5 separate regions of the Homo sapiens genome follow, and all the other regions are linked to region 5. The links are contacts of gene promoters, found by promoter capture Hi-C in blood cells and fetal thymus (Javierre and others, 2016). All regions are on one chromosome and are shown on one strand. Each heading gives the region's core, a stretch centred on a gene start or on the middle of the fragment in contact. The rest is flanking DNA. Distances are from core to core; before and after follow the strand shown.

The links. Contacts are between HindIII fragments. The CHiCAGO score rates a contact against its expected background, and 5 or more counts as called.
Region 1: the fragment with the promoter of PRP4K here is called in contact with the fragment with the promoter of LINC01011 in region 5 in 6 of 17 cell types (naive CD8 T cells, non-activated CD4 T cells, total CD8 T cells and 3 more); the score reaches 8.6 in naive CD8 T cells.
Region 2: a contact is called between a fragment that was not itself captured here and the fragment with the promoter of LINC01011 in region 5, in 1 of 17 cell types (total CD8 T cells). The highest score is 5.4, in total CD8 T cells.
Region 3: a contact is called between a fragment that was not itself captured here and the fragment with the promoter of LINC01011 in region 5, in 2 of 17 cell types (non-activated CD4 T cells and fetal thymus). The highest score is 8.3, in non-activated CD4 T cells.
Region 4: a contact is called between a fragment that was not itself captured here and the fragment with the promoter of LINC01011 in region 5, in 1 of 17 cell types (naive CD8 T cells). The highest score is 5.7, in naive CD8 T cells.

What each region holds. Positions count from the first base shown.
Region 1 is chr6:4,019,409-4,022,840 of GRCh38, forward strand. PRP4K (pre-mRNA processing factor kinase PRP4K) reads left to right here and starts at 1,892. Exons shown (of 15, transcript NM_003913.5): 1 at 1,892-2,058. The coding sequence starts at 2,018. It overlaps LOC124901245 (a long non-coding RNA gene), which reads right to left and starts at 1,759. Exons shown (of 2, transcript XR_007059415.1): 1 at 1-1,759. RefSeq lists enhancers at 1,723-2,032, 3,075-3,134. The HindIII fragment of the contact is 11,601 bases long and covers 1,770-3,432 here.
Region 2 is chr6:4,036,960-4,040,421 of GRCh38, forward strand. PRP4K (pre-mRNA processing factor kinase PRP4K) reads left to right here. Exons shown (of 15, transcript NM_003913.5): 3 at 438-611. Among named protein-coding and RNA genes, the nearest start is that of PRP4K, 17 kb to the left of the region's middle. The HindIII fragment of the contact is 9,945 bases long and covers 1-3,462 here.
Region 3 is chr6:4,136,890-4,139,993 of GRCh38, forward strand. It overlaps ECI2-DT (ECI2 divergent transcript), which reads left to right. Exons shown (of 4, transcript NR_103764.1): 2 at 472-513. Among named protein-coding and RNA genes, the nearest start is that of ECI2-DT, 2.4 kb to the left of the region's middle. The HindIII fragment of the contact is 5,893 bases long and covers 1-3,104 here.
Region 4 is chr6:4,057,556-4,060,873 of GRCh38, forward strand. It overlaps PRP4K (pre-mRNA processing factor kinase PRP4K), which reads left to right. Exons shown (of 15, transcript NM_003913.5): 14 at 1,173-1,259; 15 at 2,858-3,318. The coding sequence ends at 3,061. Among named protein-coding and RNA genes, the nearest start is that of FAM217A, 20 kb to the right of the region's middle. RefSeq lists an enhancer at 1,640-1,934. The HindIII fragment of the contact is 4,589 bases long and covers 1-3,318 here.
Region 5 is chr6:2,985,956-2,989,384 of GRCh38, forward strand. LINC01011 (long intergenic non-protein coding RNA 1011) reads left to right here and starts at 2,012. Exons shown (of 3, transcript NR_026856.1): 1 at 2,012-2,076. NQO2-AS1 (NQO2 antisense RNA 1) reads right to left here. Exons shown (of 2, transcript NR_186367.1): 2 at 3,381-3,429. RefSeq lists enhancers at 1,954-2,763, 2,764-3,429 and a silencer at 2,957-3,376. The HindIII fragment of the contact is 2,996 bases long and covers 1,433-3,429 here.

The sequences.
Region 1 (3,432 bases), core at 642-3,141, 1.0 Mb after region 5:
TTTATTTATAATAGGCTCTTGCAAGCAAGGAAAAATAAGGCATTTTCTGATTCGAACGTAGTGCTCTATTACCCCTACTCAACAAACATTTGAATGCCAAAGAGCTGTGAGGGTGGATGCTTAACAAGCAGATGCTAAGCGAGGTTATATTTTTGTAGGAAGCAGCCTGATAAGAAAAGAGCAGATTTTCGAGTCAGATTTTAGTTCAAAAATCAGCTTTGTACTTGGGAACTCAATCATAAGCAAATTACCTTACCTCTTAGTGTCGGTTTGTTCATGTGTAAAACGTGTTAATAGTACCTGACCCAATCTCTTGCCTTCAAGTATATCACTCTATTTCCAAGATGAGATCTCTCACAGTTCTACTACGTACACCGTTAATTTTAACATTATTTAAAAATAGTTTACTAAGTTTATTTCATTTATTTATTTGAGACGGCGTTTTTGCTTTTGTTGCCCAGGCTGGAGTGCAATGGCGCGATCTCGGCCTCCCGGGTTCAAGCGATTCTCTTGCCTCAGCCTCCCGAGTAGCTGAGACTACAGGCGCCACCACGCCGGCTAATTTTTTGTATTTTTAGCAGAGACGGAGTTTCGCTATGTTGGCCAGGCTGGACTCGAACTCTTGAGTTCAGGCAATCCGCCCGCCTCGGCCTCCCAAAGTGCTAGAGGATTGCAGGCGTGAGCCACCGCGCCCGGCCCTAACATTTCAAAACGTTTGGAATTCAGGCAACAAGAGACATTTTGTAAGAACATTTAAAACCCTTCTCCCCTGGAAATCAAGAGATATGTATGGAGTCTGGAGATTCCGAACTCAATTTTCTAGGACAAAGGCAAACTCAGATGATTACAAGAATGAAAGTGATCGTCACGCTGCTTCCAGGTTCCAAAGTATGGATAATTTTTTTTTTTTTTTTGAGATGGAATCTTGCTCTGTCGCCCAGGCTGGAGTGCAGTGGCGTGATCTCAGTGCAAACTCCGCCTCTCGGGTTCAAGCGATTCTCCTGCCTCAGCCTCCGGAGTAGCTGGGATTATAGGCGAGCGCCACCACGCCCAGCTAATTTTTTGTATTTTTAATAGAGACGGGGTTTCACCATGTTGGCCAGGCTGGTCTCCAAATCCTGGCCTCAGGTGATCCGCCCGCCTCGGCCTCCCAAGGTGCTGGGATTACAGGGGTGAGCCACAGCGCCAGGCGAGAAATATTTTTTTAAAGAGGAATTAAAGAACCTAATTGGTTTTGAGAGTTCTCCAAGAGCCAGTAAATGTTTTCCCCACAATATTCCATTCTACCCCATTACTGTAGAGTCGTTATAGAAGAAAACAAAATCACATAACGCAACTTGGGCCAAAAAACATTACACGTTCCAATTACGGAAATAACGAACTGAATCGTGTCACCCTTGAACTATGTAAAAGTTGAAAAGATGTTCAGTGTTAAATGTAGTAACAGTTCCACATTAAAAGATATTTACGTTCGAGTTTACAGTATTTAAAAATGCCTTTCTACACACTTTCCCGGGAAGTTAATGCCACTTCAGTTGAGCTGTCTAGCGAGATGGTTAAGCATTTACTGTGTCTCTAACACCGACCAGGGGAAAAATCATCAATTCGTTTGCCCGAGTTTAAGAGAATTTTCACCTAACTTCTAATCTCCACAGCCAATCAGTTCTTGGAACCGCACACCCGATGCCGACATCCCTCTCTTGTTGGCTCCCCTCGTTAGCGGGATTCAATAACTAAACGTCCATTTCTAGCATTGACTGAAGAGCTCAAGCTTGACACTCGACCTCAATCCTTAGCAGCACCGCCCACCATGCTCCCGGAAGCTGCGACACTACGCCCTGCGCTAGTCCCGGGACGTGGGGTTTTATATCCGGATTCTTAGCGCGGACTCAGAACCCAGCTCTTCCCTACACGGTCGGCACATGCGCGGCAGCTCTTTTCCTTCTTCCTCCACTTCCCCTACCCTCCACCGTCCGGGAGCCGCCGCCACCGCCGCCGAGGAGTCAGGAAGTTCAAGATGGCCGCCGCGGAGACCCAGTCGCTACGGGAGCAGCCAGAGTAAGTAGTCTCTGTGAGTGGGCCAGAAGCTGGAGCCCGGGGACTGCCGAGTGGGAGCTGCACGGGGTGGCGGGAAAGTTCGGGCCTAACGGCGAGAGTCAAACTTTGCTTTTTCCGGCGCGATTCGTTGTGGGGTGGGAGGCATGGGGAGCAGGCGGCCTTCGAGCTTCCTTCTCCCAGAGGCCGTGGCTGCTGGGGTGAAGGCGGCCGCGGCCTGCCGCGCGTCGTTGCCCCGGGAGGCGTAGGCGCGAGCGGCCTCTACAGGTCCGGTGCGCGTGGCGGCTGCCGCGGCAGTGAGGTCGCGCTTTCCTATGCCTCTTTTGGGGACCCATCTGAGCTCCCTGGCCGCAGCTCTTAGCGGCATCTGTGTTGGGGACACGAGGGTCAGTGGCAGCAGGCGGGCCAAGCCCTAAGTCTTTTCTTCCTCATGCGGTACCCCCAGTCGTCCTTTTACTGGTGTCAGTTTAGGACCTGAAAGCAGAGAGCGGAGGTGCTGGGGTCACACTCTCTGGCCATCCCAGAGCTAGTCTGTGGCTAGCGGGATACTTGATCTCGTCACCTTGTACTCTTTAGTCCAGCAGTCACCCAGTATTGTTTTGTTTTGTTTTGAGTGCCTACCGGCAGCTTTTTTACCAACTTGCAAACTTGAGGCAAAGTAAGATAGAGTCTTTGGTTTTGAGGCCTGGCATTTTTTTTTTTTTTTTTTTTTTGCCTGAGTTTATAACCCTTCTTTAGGAGGACGAGTGGAAGGAGTAGTGGGAATTGCTAGCTACTGCCAAACCACTTTATGTCTATAATTAAGCTAACATTAAGAATCCATGCGGCCAAATGAAAAATGAAAAAAAAAAAAATACGAGTGTATGCTGCAAAGGTTAACCATTGGTTAACTTAAAGCAGTATTTTGCTGTTCATGTCTATGTTAGGAAAACTCAAACAAGAACCTTAACAGAGAGAATGGATTTTACGGCAATGTTCCTATAGCGACCGTTTTTTTTTTTTGTTTTGTTTTTTGTTTTTTTTTGCATCTGCACTGTCTGATCTGTTTCCAGCCATCTTAGAAAGAGGTATAGTCTCCCAGCAACTTGTGACTGAGCGATAGAAGAAATCTTTGCCACCAGACAACCTGACACTTAATTGCTGTGCATCCAGTTTTGGGCTCCTCAATCATCTGCATTACTCAGCTAGGCAGAGAAACGGAATTTTTAATTAAGGGCTTTTCAAAACTGCTGTATTATTTTTACAATTTGACTTAGCAGAGAACAAATGGATTCTGAAGTTTTAAATTAGCTTTAACCTCTTACTGTTTCTCACCAAGTTCATTGTGTGGCACAATTACAGTGTTTATGCCAGTACCGTGCAGATCTCATGCTATGT
Region 2 (3,462 bases), core at 87-2,586, 1.1 Mb after region 5:
TGGGTGACAGAGTTAGACCCTGTCTCAAAAAAAAAAAAAAAAAAAAAAGATCCTTAATTGGAGAAATGTCAGGATGTAGAAAGAAAAAGTCGTCAATGAAAATGGAATATTTGAGTAAATGGAGTATTATACTCACTTGGGGAGGTTTTATTTGAGTTGGTTTATTTGAAATTAGAATCAGTGACTTTACCGGTATGAATAACCTTTAGTAATTTTTCAAACTGTGGGACCAGAGGAAATAAGACCTTTCATTGTTTGCCTGCAATAACACCAAAATATCACTGTAGTCACCTGAGTAAGTTTTGTTACAAAACACATTAATCAAAGTTCACTTTCTTTAGGCTAATGTGCCTTTTCTTACAGATGTTCTTTGCATATAGAAAAAAATCATTTACTTTGATTTATATTTCTTTTAACTTGCATTTGATCCCCTTAAGAACACGACCTCGAGATGATATCCTCAGTAGACGTGAAAGATCAAAAGATGCCAGCCCCATCAATAGATGGTCTCCAACCCGAAGAAGAAGTAGATCTCCCATTAGAAGGAGGTCTCGTTCCCCACTCAGACGTAGCAGGTCTCCAAGAAGAAGAAGCAGATCTCCTCGGAGAAGGTAAAGACATTTCATCCTTGTGATTCATTAAACTCTGAATGTTTTTGAACCACCAGTGAGCTCACTTGGTAGGTTTTCTTTTAGACCAGTTTTCTCTGAAAAATCGTAGTTGTGTTCCCATAGTTTCCTTTTACCAGCAATCTCTACACATGGGTTTTCTTTTATATCGTTTCCTTTGAATTTTAAACAAATCATTGCTCATTTAGGATGCAATAAAATTAGTCTTTTAAAAATAGGACTTTTTTCTCTCTTTTATCAATCAATACTAAATGAGCCAGACTTAGGGATTTTTTTTTTTTTTTAACCAGCAAGGTAGATCATGTAGTAGTAAATATATAGCCCAGTTTCTTACATTTTATATTAATTTTGCATATTGATAGTTACTGTAGACTTAGGCAAAGGCCTATTTAATTTGCCATAGAAACCATTTTATCTGAAGCATATGTAGTCAGTAATAGGTTAAAAAGGTGGTTTATAAAGCAGGGAATCATTTTTTAAAATTCATACATACATGAAATATTTTAATATAAAACATAAATGGGTATTTGTTTGCCAATCTTTTAACATTTTTAATTGAAGTAATAAATGAATATAATTTTTAAGAAACAAAGGCTTATATTATAGCCATCTTTACATATCTCTCAGAATTTTTGTATGCTGTATTCCTAGAAATGGAAATGCATGGTCTGAGTGCACTCTGGTCAATGAGGGGTTTTATTTTATTTTATTTTATTTTATTTTTTGACAGTCTCACTCTGTTGCCCACGCTGGAGTGCAATGGCGCGATCTCACTGCAACCTCCACCTCCTGAGTTCAAGCAATTCTGCCTCAGCCTCTCAAGTAGCTGGGACTAGAGGTGCCCATGCCACCATGCCCAGCTTTTTTTTTTTTGTATTTTTCTAAATAGAGATGGAGTTTCACTATGTTGGTCAGGCTGGTCTCGAACTCCTGACCCCAAATGATCCGCTCGTCTTGGCCCACTGCACCCAGCCACAATGAGGGTTTTTAATACTACCGCTTACTCATGTTTCGCTTTTGCCTAATTTCATCACACTTTTTTGTTCTTCTAGAGTCAGTATAATCATTGTGATCCTGTATGTATTCATTGCTGAGCAAATAGTTGGGAGAGGAGGGAAGAGAGGACCTCCCTTCTGACACTGCTAGTCTTCTTGCTCCAAGCTGATCTCAAGACTTGCTTTTTTCTCTCTTCCCTTTTTATAAAAAATGTCTTGTGTTCTGAAATTTATTATGTGCCTCGGTATGTAGATCTTTATCCCCATTTATTTTGCTAATTACTAGATAGGCCCTTTAAAGCAGGGAGTTTATGGCCTTCTGGGAAATTTTTGTGCTTTTTTTTTTCTTTCTTTCTTTCTTTCTGTTTTTTCCAATTGGACCTTCTATATTGTTCCACGTATTAACATTTTATTCATGTTTTCTGGAAATAGTATTTTCTGTCTCTCAGACAATAGCGAGGTTATTGTGTGAGATTTTTGTTCTTTATAGTTTTCTTTGCTATATTGTGTTTCTTCCCAGATTCCTTTTGCTGCATGTTTACTTTTCATTTGAAGACTTTTCTCACACAGCTGGATCCTTCATTGCTGCCTATTCTGAGTTAATATTTAGGTACTGAGAAAGCTGAATGGGATTTTTCTTCTATTGTGACAGTGTAGGACTTGTCAGCTAGTGGTTATCACTTCAGAGTAATTAGATATTTTTGGATATTAGTGACTGTAGATGTATTTTCTTGGGCTATGAGTTTTCCGGAATCCTTTCATTTCCTCCTGGGAAATAGACCTGGCTACCAGTAGAGTTCTCTTCCTTCATAATGTAAACTTCCTTATAATCTGTCTATCTTTGGTATGTGCCTCTCAGCATCTGGAGTGACCAACCCTTCTCTAGAAAGCAAATCTTAAGTGTTCTGCTAGAATGTGAAGGGAGTGGTTGACATTTTCCACTGAGTTGGGGAGGGGACTGTACCGAGTCTGGCTGTTTATAAAGGCTTTCAACCAATTCTGTCCTCAGCTCTTACCTCACACCATCTTGCAGAGGATAGGGAGTCTCCAATTCCTGAGGCTTTCTGGGGGTGTTGTGACATGTTCTGACTGTTTCTGATTTACCTTGTGTGTTCATGTTGGACCAATATTCAGCTCAATTTGATCTGTTACTATTCTTTACTCCAATTTGCACATTCTAAGATTTTATTCTCATCTCTGCTATCATCTCTCTTGACATTCTCCTTGCCTGAGGGTTTTCCTCCCCTCCCCACCCCACCCCTCCCTTCCCCTCCGATCTTTCTCTTTTCTCTCTCTCCTCTCCCCTCTCCCTTCTCCTCTTTTCTTTTCTTTCTTGAGGTAGGATCTTGCTCTGTTACCCAGGCTGGAGTGCAGTGTGATCACGACTCACTGCAGCCTCAACCTCCTGGGCTCAAGGAATCCTCCCGGTAGCTGGGACTATAGGCACGCACCACCACACCCAGCTAATTTTTTTGTATGTTTTGTGGAGACAGGGTTTTGCCATGTTGCCCAGGCTGGTCTCAAACTCCCGAGCTCCCTGCCTGCCTTGGCCTCCCAAAGTGCTGAGATTATATGTGTGTACCACTGCACCCAGCCCCCAGTTTTTTTTTTTTTAAGTACTCATTTACTGTCATGTTAGTGAGGTTTCTTTAAGTTGAGCTCATTGAAACATGCATATAACTTACATAAAGTAAAATGCTTTTTGTTGTAAAGTTGTGTGAATTTTGACAGACACATAAGTCACACTCAAGTTAGAGAACGTTTTCATCACTCCAAGTTCCCTTTTGCCCCTTTTCGGTCTCTCCCTTCACTCCAGTGCCTGTGTATACAACCGTGGT
Region 3 (3,104 bases), core at 311-2,810, 1.2 Mb after region 5:
AGAACAATTTGGGCTTATCCCAAAGAGATTTTTTTTTTTTTGAGATGGAGTTTCCGTCTTGTTGCGTAGGCTGGAGTGCACTGGCACAATCTCGGCTCACTGCAACCTCCACCTCCTGGGTTCAAGTGATTCTCCTGTCTCGGGCTCCCGAGTAGCTGGGATTACAAGCATGCGCCACCAGGCCCGGCTAATTTTTTGTATTTAGTAGAGATGGGGTTTCACCTTGTTGGTCAGACTGGTCTCAAACTCCTGATTTCAGGTGATCCACCCGCTTCGGCCTCCCAGTGTTGGGATTACAGGTGTGAGCCACCACACCTGGCCTCTCCATATATTACAAAGTGGTAGTTGGTAGGCTGAGCTGCCTCTCTCAGAGACCTTGACTCTCTCCAAGGCTGTTAGATAACCTCAGAGGTAATGGAAATGCAGTAATCAGATATTGCAGATAATACAAGACTCATTCATTTCCAGAAGATGAAACAGCTGTCATGGAAATATTTTTTAAATCTCATACTGGTAAGCATATTTTGATAGTGAAACCTTTTGCAATGCAAGCAAACTACTCTCAGGCTTATACCTACCACAGAAAAGAGTGGGGTGTGGGAAATTAGCTTATCTTTTTCAAACTATAATTTTAAAAATATAGAAAGAGCATGTGTCAAAGATTTACTTAGCTCATTAATTAGGGAACCAACAGGGTGCTAAAGAAGAAGTTAAAAGACTAGTTTAATATAGTCAATGTTAAAAAAAGAATGCTGGAATAGATTGCAAAGTTAGAAACAAAACTGGTTAATATCCCATAGAGCAATAAAACCATAACCTCGGGAGGAATGTTTTTCCTATTGGAGAAATCATTTGCATATCTACCAGCTGTCATTTACTAAAGCCCCATTATATCCAGCATTTGAGAGAAAGGAGATGGTTAAAGAGACAGACATTCCTGGTTAAAGAGACAGACATTTAGATTCCTAGATCCTAAAGAGGGTCATCTTGGGTCCGTATTTGGTTTACTAAACTGTTAAGAGGTGTCCAGACCATGCCTTGTAAACATGGCTGCCATGGCCCTGTGGGTGGGAGGGCCAGTTGCAGCAAAAGGGAACCATTGTGATTTTGGTAGATTCTCCACCTGAGCTTGAAGATCATTGTATCTGTGCTAAGGAGTTTGGATTCCGTGCTGAGAGCAAGCAGAGAGCCATTGAAGATACAATTGGCATGCCCAGCTATCCAGTTCTCAGTGAAATCCTGGACTCCAGATATATCTTCAGGGTGTAATGGTTCTGGATAAGAGTAGGAAAGGCAGAAACTCAGTCAAGACCTCTCTAAAGCTCTAATCTTCACCCTGTTATATAACCAGCTTCCCCTGGAGCTTATGAAAATCTTGGGGAGGGGGTCCTCCAGTCTGGTTAGATCCTGTCTTATTGATTGCAGGGGACTGATGCTGCCTGGGAGGGCCGTTGATGTTCTTTGGGTTGAGAGAATCTCAGACTCTCTTAGCAGGTGCACAGGAAGTGTTGTCTCCGGCTATAATGAATCTTTGGGGTCAGCATATCGACTTCACAGTGTTGTGCTCAGTGGTAGTGTGAATGTTTCTTTTTTAAGATCATAGAATAGATTATATCAGAGTAGAATGTTACATGATGACTCTGTCAGTCATGATAATTTTTATTTCCAATATTTACATCATCAGATACTGTTGTTACAGCATGTACAGAGTCTGTCACATTCAGTCTTGAGGAACAATTCTGATACACTGTCCCAATTAACAGTGCAAGCTAGAAACCTGGAAGAGTCTTTGATTCCCTTACCTCACTGACACCTCACATCTATCATTCATCAAATACTAGTGATTCTGTCTCCTAAATATATTTTTTTAATTTTCCCCCTCATCTCACATCCCTCTGCATCGTCTTAATTCATGCTCTCATTGATTTTGAGATTACTGTTACCTGGATTCCTGTAGCAGCCACTTCCCAGTTTTGCTAATTCAGTTACCTCTGCAATCCATTCTCTCCCTGCTTCCAGGCTGGTCTCCCTAAATTTTAAATCTTACACTCCACACGATTCTCCCCGATCTCTCCCCTTGGCTGAAAATCTCTTAGTGAGTCCCCTTTGCCTGTTAAACAAACCCAAGCTGCTTAGCACTGGCAAATAAGGCCCACAAGATTTGCCCTTGCCTACCTTCTCAGGCACCTCTTTCCAGCCCCACATGTTAACTTCCCATTTCAGGTGAACTTGGGATGCTCAGTTTCTCTGAGTTTCCAGGTTCTCTCATTCCAGGCATTGGCATATCCAGGAATCTCCTCTGACCCACCCACTGGTTAGTCCTGTCCTGAGTTCCTACAGTCTCCTGGGCGTTTCTTTCTTCTGGCCCCTATGTCACTGTGTTTTATATCTGATTAGTAATCTATTTTATTACAAGGGGCATATCCTGGGAAGAATTCTACCCTGTATTCAACCCCTTTCTCATTTCTGGACACACTGCTTGACAGAAAATACTGTACTCTGTGAAGGTTTGTTGGATGATGGATGAGCTGTTGAAAGTTTCCTTCTAGAGCGTGCTTTTCCACATTTGATAATAAGTTGTGAGTCAGTTGCTACCTTTTCATTAAGTTGTCAGAAGGTGTTAACATGAGTGTTTTTGTGGTTTGAAATGTTGCTTTTTCAGTGAGTGGTAGCTAAAGGCAGAGGACTTTGACTGTTGCCAAGTTCCTGTGCCGAAATGAACTGGGGAGAGTGGTACGAAGGCAACTGTGGTGTTACTTAACTCTATAAATTTCTGGGTGAAAAATCTATTATAGCTTTTTCCATTAGTCATTAAAATGATTAGTCCACGTTCAACGTTCTGTATCATAATTGTTTCCTGCTTTAGCTGGATGACATTGCTTGAGATAAATTAAACCTGTGGCATTATTATGTCTCCTTTACAAAATTAATCCTCTTTTCTTCTTCCTAGCTAGGCTTTGTATTGCCTTCCTACACAATCTTATATGTCAGAGATATTAAAAATAGTATGCTGGAATATTACCTGCTTTGGGGTGTTTTTCTTATTTCCCATCGTTATAATTTAGAGAAGAAAGTCATTTCAAAAGTAAACATTTGGCTCATGT
Region 4 (3,318 bases), core at 639-3,138, 1.1 Mb after region 5:
GTAAGAGGAACTTGATGTTAATTAATTTATTAAAGATTGGAGGTTATTTGAGAAAGTAAGGTACCTTTCTTGGTACCTTTTCTTATTTAATATCTTTCTAACTCACCGCTGATACTTCAGCTATAATGCTAGTTTCTGTTTAACATGAAGCAAGAATGTAAGCATTTATTAAAGTATCTGAGGGCCATAACTTAGCTTTTTTTTTTTTTTTTTTTTTGAGACGGAGTCTTGCTTTGTCGCCCAGGCTGCAGTGCAGTGGCGCGATCTCAGCTTACTGCAAGCTCTGCCTCCCGGGTTCATGCCATTCTCCTGCCTCAGCCTCCCGAGTAGCTATAGGCATGAGCCACCGCACCCGGCTGTAACTTAGCTTTTTAAGATTTCAGCCTATTTGCTGAATTTCTAAAGATTTACACATTTTTCGTAAAGGTCAGAAAACTGTATGGTTTTCAGTTGTGTTTTGTTGTTGTTGTTGTTTTGAGACTGGATCTTGCTCTGTGTCCCAGACTGGAGTACAGTTATAGCTCACTGCAGCCTTGAACCGAACCCCTGGGCTCAAGCAGTTCTCCTGCCTCAGTCTCCAATGTAGCTGGGACTACAGGCATGTGCCACCACAACCAGTTAATTTATTTAATAATTTTTTTGTAGAGATGGAGTTTCACTATGTTGACCAGGCTGATTTGTACATATTGTCCAAATTCTATTAGGTTGGACTTTTTTTAGAATAAGTTACATAAAAATGAGCTATGTTGGTATTAGTTTTAATGAAGTCTGACCTGTATCAGGGCTGTTGGAACATAATTAGTAAAGTGGCATTAGGTTCCCTAACTGCCAAGGAGAAAAAACCTGAGTTTTGTGATATTTTTAGGAAGAAATAATTTAAAGTCTTTGTTGACTCTCCAATTTTAAATAGTGAAAGGACAATTTGATGTTATAATTGTTTTAAGTCACTGCCTGGACAAATATAATTTCATGTTATTAAGTAGTTTTAGGTACAGCATTGGTATTTGCTTTTGCAAAGATGTTAATGAATTCCTGGGATCAAGGGAATCTGAGATCAAACAAACCTACAGAGACTAAATAACATACTTATTTGACTTATTGTATATTAATTAAATTGTTAGTAGGCCTGTTTCATAATAGTTCAAAACCCAAGTTTTTGTTTTGTTTTGTAGATGATTCGAAAAGGTGTGTTCAAAGATCAGCATTTTGATCAAAATCTCAACTTCATGTACATAGAAGTTGATAAAGTAACAGAGAGGGTAAGTGTTTTAAATGCAGCATGCAATAGTTATTTTATTGTTAACTGAGTACTAAATCATACGAGCTGGTGAATTAAAAAAAAAACAAAAACCCAAAAGTAAGTATTTCCTTTTTGCTGTCGACCAATTCCTAAATAAAACACATCAGACCATGGAAAAGATGGAGGGATTTTAAAATGTTTTTCTAGCATAATTAATTTATTTTTATTATAGGTCATATTTAGGCCCTCGTCACATCTTCTTTGGATTACTTTCTTGGTCTGGCTTCCCATCCAGCTTTCTTATTGCTGCTAGAGTGATGTTTCTGAAAACATATCTGGTCATGTTCCTATCCCTGCTTAAAAACCTTTGTTGGCTCCCTGTTACCTATGAAATAATATTTAAGTTCCTCAGAATGACAAATCCAACTGCTTTCTTCAGTTTTCAGACCTCTCTTCAGTACATTCAGAACCCCCACCTTTCCACATTTGGCCAGAAGGCGTGCTGGTTCAGACCTTTGTGCCTTTGCTAACAGACCTCCCTGAGCTTAGTCATTTCCTGTGCTGCCTCACCCCCAACCCCCTAAAAAATGTATCATCTTCAAGCCTCAGCTGAAATACACATTCTGTATGAGCCTTTTGAAAACTCCCAGATTGAAGTAATGATTTCCTTATTTTTGTCCCATTATTATAGCATATGTCCCTGTCTTTGTCAGAGCACTTAATAATACTTCAGGGTATTAACTTATTCACATGTCTGTCACTTACCACTTCAAGGTAGGGAAAGTACAGTGCAAACAGCTCATGCTTATCTTATTGTAAATTTTCATTGCTAACTTGGAGTTGACTTTTTTTTTCTTTTTTGAGACTGAGTCTCGCTCTGTCACCTGTCACCCAGGGTGAAGTGCAATGGCACGATCTTGGCTCACAGCAACCTCTGCCTCCCAGGTTCAAGCAATTCTCATGCCTCAGCCTCCCGAGTAGCTGGGATTACAATTGTGTGCCACCACGCCTGGATAATTTTTGTATTTTTAGTAGAGATGGGTTTTGCAGTGTTGCCCAGGCTGGTCTCGAATTCCTGAGCTCAAGTGATCCACCTACCTTGGGCTTCCAAAGTGCTGGGATTACAGGTGTGAGCCACCGCGCCCAGCCCAGAGTTGGCATCAACTTTTTCATTTAAGTTTTTTGGTTACCTTTTAAAAAGATGTACAGCATAGAGGAAACCACAGCAAAGTTTTAAATGAATAGATGATGATGATACAGTCATGCGTCACATAACCACAGCATACACTCACACACATCTAGGGTAAGTAGTATGGCCTTTTGCTTCTAGGCCTGAACTGTAAGTTGGTGGACTGAATACTGTAGGCACTTTTGCAAGTGGTAAGTGTATGTATGTATCTAAACATAGAAAAGGGAGAGCAAAAATACGGTATTCCAATCTTAAGGGACCACTGTCATATATGCAGTCTGTCATTGCCCAAAATGTGCACTGTGTGTATATATTTTGTATGTATATGCATGTTTTTAATATTTTTGATAGACCCCAAAACAATCTGATTTAAGTTGTATATGCTTAGTAACTTATTTAGAGATACGCATTTTAAAAATTATTTTTAGGAGAAAGTTACTGTTATGAGCACCATTAATCCAACTAAGGACCTGTTGGCTGACTTGATTGGGTGCCAGAGACTTCCTGAAGACCAACGTAAGAAAGTACACCAGCTAAAGGACTTGTTGGACCAGATTCTGATGTTGGACCCAGCTAAACGAATTAGCATCAACCAGGCCCTACAGCACGCCTTCATCCAGGAAAAAATTTAAACAAGATGAAGAAACTCCAAGGGTTTGAGTAAATACAAAGACTGAAGAAATTTCACAGCAGTTTATTAATGTATATAAACTTATAAATATTTCTCCAGCAAATTTGAGGAAGCATGATATATTTGAATTAACACCAAGGGTGATATTTCTTTTAGAGATGTTAGTTAATCTGTTTTGTGTCTTACGTGAAATTTCACTGTAGACTGTTTTAAATTGCCAAGACTGCACAAAATTACAGTGCTAATGTATATGGTTGC
Region 5 (3,429 bases), core at 762-3,261:
CCCTCAATACCTCAATACACACACTCCTTTCTTTCCCAAGTCTATTGCCTCTTCCAAAAGCAATGTAAGATCCGCCCCAGAACAGTGGGGAGTTCTTATCCTTTCCGTTACCTAAGCAACCTGAGGGCAAAGACCTTTAGATCACCGGCAGTGCTGTTCTTTGGGTAACTTGATCTTTGCTTATCAGCTTTAATAACTTTATTATACGAAATACCCAGCCTTGATGAAGTATCGATGACTCACTAACTGTGGTGTAACTAATTGTTTCATTCATTCTACAAACTTTTTTTTTTTTTTTTGAGACAGAGTCTCACTCTGTTGCACAGGCTGGAGTGCAGTGGCGCGATCTCAGCTTACTGCAACTTCCACCTCCTAGGTTTGAGCGATTCTCCTGCCTCAGCCTCCTGAGTAGCTGGGATTACAGGCGCGTGCCACCACACCCGGCTATTTTTTGTATTTTTAGTAGAGACGAGGTTTCACCATGTTGGTCAGGCTGGTCTCAAACTCCTGACCTCGTGATCTGCCCACCTTGGCCTCACAAAGTGCTGGGATTACCGGCATGAGCCACCGCGCCTGGCCTCATTCTACAAACTTTTATTCTGCACTCACTATAGGCTGGGAGCTACACTAGGGCCTGGGGACATGAAGACAGGCGACACGGTCCCTGGGCTCAAGATGCCAGACAGATGTGCAAACAAGTGAAATCTGATGTGATATGTGCTTTAGTGGTGCCAAGGATAAAAGGATAAGTGTTAAGAAAAAGTAGCAACAATATGTCTGACTGGGAGAATCAAGAAAGGTGTCATAGAGTCCCTAACACTTGAGCTGAGAATGAGAAAGAGCATGAGCTGGCCAGGTGACACACAGAGCATATTCCAACCTAGGAGACTGGGAAATGGGCCAAAATATATACGTTTGAGGAAACAAATAGCTTACTATATAATTAAATATGAGGCAGTTTAGACTGGGCCCTTATGGATAAGTCACACCCATAAATTTTATTTCATCTTACAGGCAGTGGAGAGCCTCTGGAGGATTCTGAGCTTCGTGGTCTCATCATCAGAGTTATGTATGGCAACCATCCCAACCTTTTTGGCACCAGGGAGGGGTTTTGTGGAAAACTATTTTTCCTTGGACAGCAGAGGATGGTTTCGGGATGATTCAAGCACATGACACTTCTTGTGCACTTTATTTTCAGTGGGAGCCCTGAGCTTGTTTTCCTGCAACTATCTGGCCCCATGTGGGGGTGATGAAGACAACGGCAGATTATCAGGCATTAGATTCTCATAAGGAGCGCACATCCTAGATCCCTTATGTGTGCAGTTCACAGTAGGGTTTGTGCTCCTATAAGAATCTAATGCTGCCTGATCTGATAGGAGGCAGAGCTCTGGTGGTAATGCAAGCAATGGGGAGCAGCTGCACATACAGATAAAGCTTCACTAGCTCACCCACTGGTGGCTCACCTCTTGCTGTGTGTCCTGGTTCCTAACAGGCTACAGACCAGTCAGGTCTGTGGCCCGGGGGTTGGGAACTCCTGGTGTATGGAAGAGACTACTCTGCAGCAATGTGGACAAATAGGATGAGGGTGAGCTGTCAGGGGAGACAGGCACACATGGCAGAGCTATTTAAAAAGGAGGATAGATGACCAGGCACAGTGGCTCATGCCAGTAATCCCAGCACTTTGGGAGGCAGAGGCAGGCGGATCACGAGGTCAGCAGTTCAAGACCAGCCTGGCCAACATGGCAAAACCTCATCTCTGCTAAAAATACAAAAATTAGCTGGGCGTGGTGACATGCGCCTGTAATCCCAGCTACTCAGGAGGCTGAGGCAGGAGAATCACTTGAACCCGGGAGGCAAAGATTGCAGTGAGCCGAGATCGTGCCATTGCACTCTAGCCTGGGCAACACAGCAAGACTCTGACTGGAAAAAAAAAAAAAAAAAAAGGAGGATAGACAGGGCTTGGGGATTGGTGGATGGGTAGATAAGGAAGGAGGAGTCTAGCATGACTCTCAGACTACTGACTTGGACCAGCAGGGGAATGGCTGTGACAATAAATAAGATTGGGAAAACAAGAAGGTGAGCAAATTTAGAGGAGAAAATGAATTTCATTTTTGGCATGGTGTGGAAGGCTCGGGAGAGAGGTCTAGGCACCAGATGTCAACGTGAGGTGAAATGGATATAGCTGAAGTCAAGGGTGTGGTGAGGTTTTGCAGGGAGAGCAGGGACCTCCAGCAAGGCCAGTGCATAAGGGAGAATAGAGAAAAAAAGAACCAGAAAAAGACAAGGAGAGGCCAGAGAGGTGTGGAAAGAACCAGGGAAGACAGTTATTCACAACAAACAAAAGAGGGCAGAGTTTTAGAGAAGGAACTGAGCAGTTTGGGGCTCCAGGTGGGGCAGGAGTGGGTGGCCACGGTTGAGGGGCAGTGGCCTTCAAATTGGTCTGGGTAGGTTCTAATGGGTCAGATTGGTCAGTCCTTTCCAGGACACTGAAGGCTGCAGAGGTGTGACTGGATGCTGGTGGAGGGATGCATGGCGGGGAAGCTGAGTCAGATCCTGAAATCCTCCAAGCATGCGCCTGAAATGACCAAGGGAAATGAAGGCGGAGGCTGCTGTCGCCTGGTGGCCTGGGAAGGGCCAAGAGCCAGGGAGCTGGAGGGAGGAGAGAACGTGCGACCTCAGCACGGAGCACTGTAGGGGAGGCGGGGCTGGAGGGAGATGGCGCCGCGCTCCCGGATGAACAGAGAAAGCGACAGGGTGAGTCGCAGGGCACAGTGTGGGATGAGTCACCGACAGCAAGGCATGGACTCCGGGAAGAAGGGGAGACGAGCCGGGAAAGACTTGCATCGGGGATGTGAGCTGAGCTGCACCCAGACAAAAGCGGCTCGGGGCTCCTGAAAGCAGCAGGCACCGCCGGTCCTGCCAAGGGGCTACTTCCTGCGCGGAGTAGGAGAGTAGGAGACCCCAGGCCAGTCCCAATCCCCGGCCCGTCCGGGATGAGGGGGGCTGCGGGAGCTGCGGGGGCCTCCTCCAGGGAGGACGGTTGCAGGGTCCCTCGGCCGCCGCCCACTCCCGGGGGCGTTCCTTCCTCCCAGCTGCGCCCGGAGCGCCTGCTGCCTGGCGAGAGCCCGCCCCTCTGCAACCAGCCCGCTGCAGCGGAGGGCGCCTGGGTGCCCTCGGCCGAGCCAGCAGCCCACGGTCGGCGCCGCACTGTCCCCTGGTGGCGGAGCGCTCCCGCGACCCGGCTCGCCACGCCTGGGAGGGGTCCAGGAGGACGCGGCTGGGACCTGGGGGCTCTCAGGGTGGGGCCTTGGGGGATGAGGCTGGGGCCCGCGGGAAACCGGGCTGGGGCGAGGAGGCTCGCAGGACTTCCTGCCACAGAATGTTTCGATGCTTTTTTTAATTCTGCAAATGTAAGCCTTTCCACTTTAA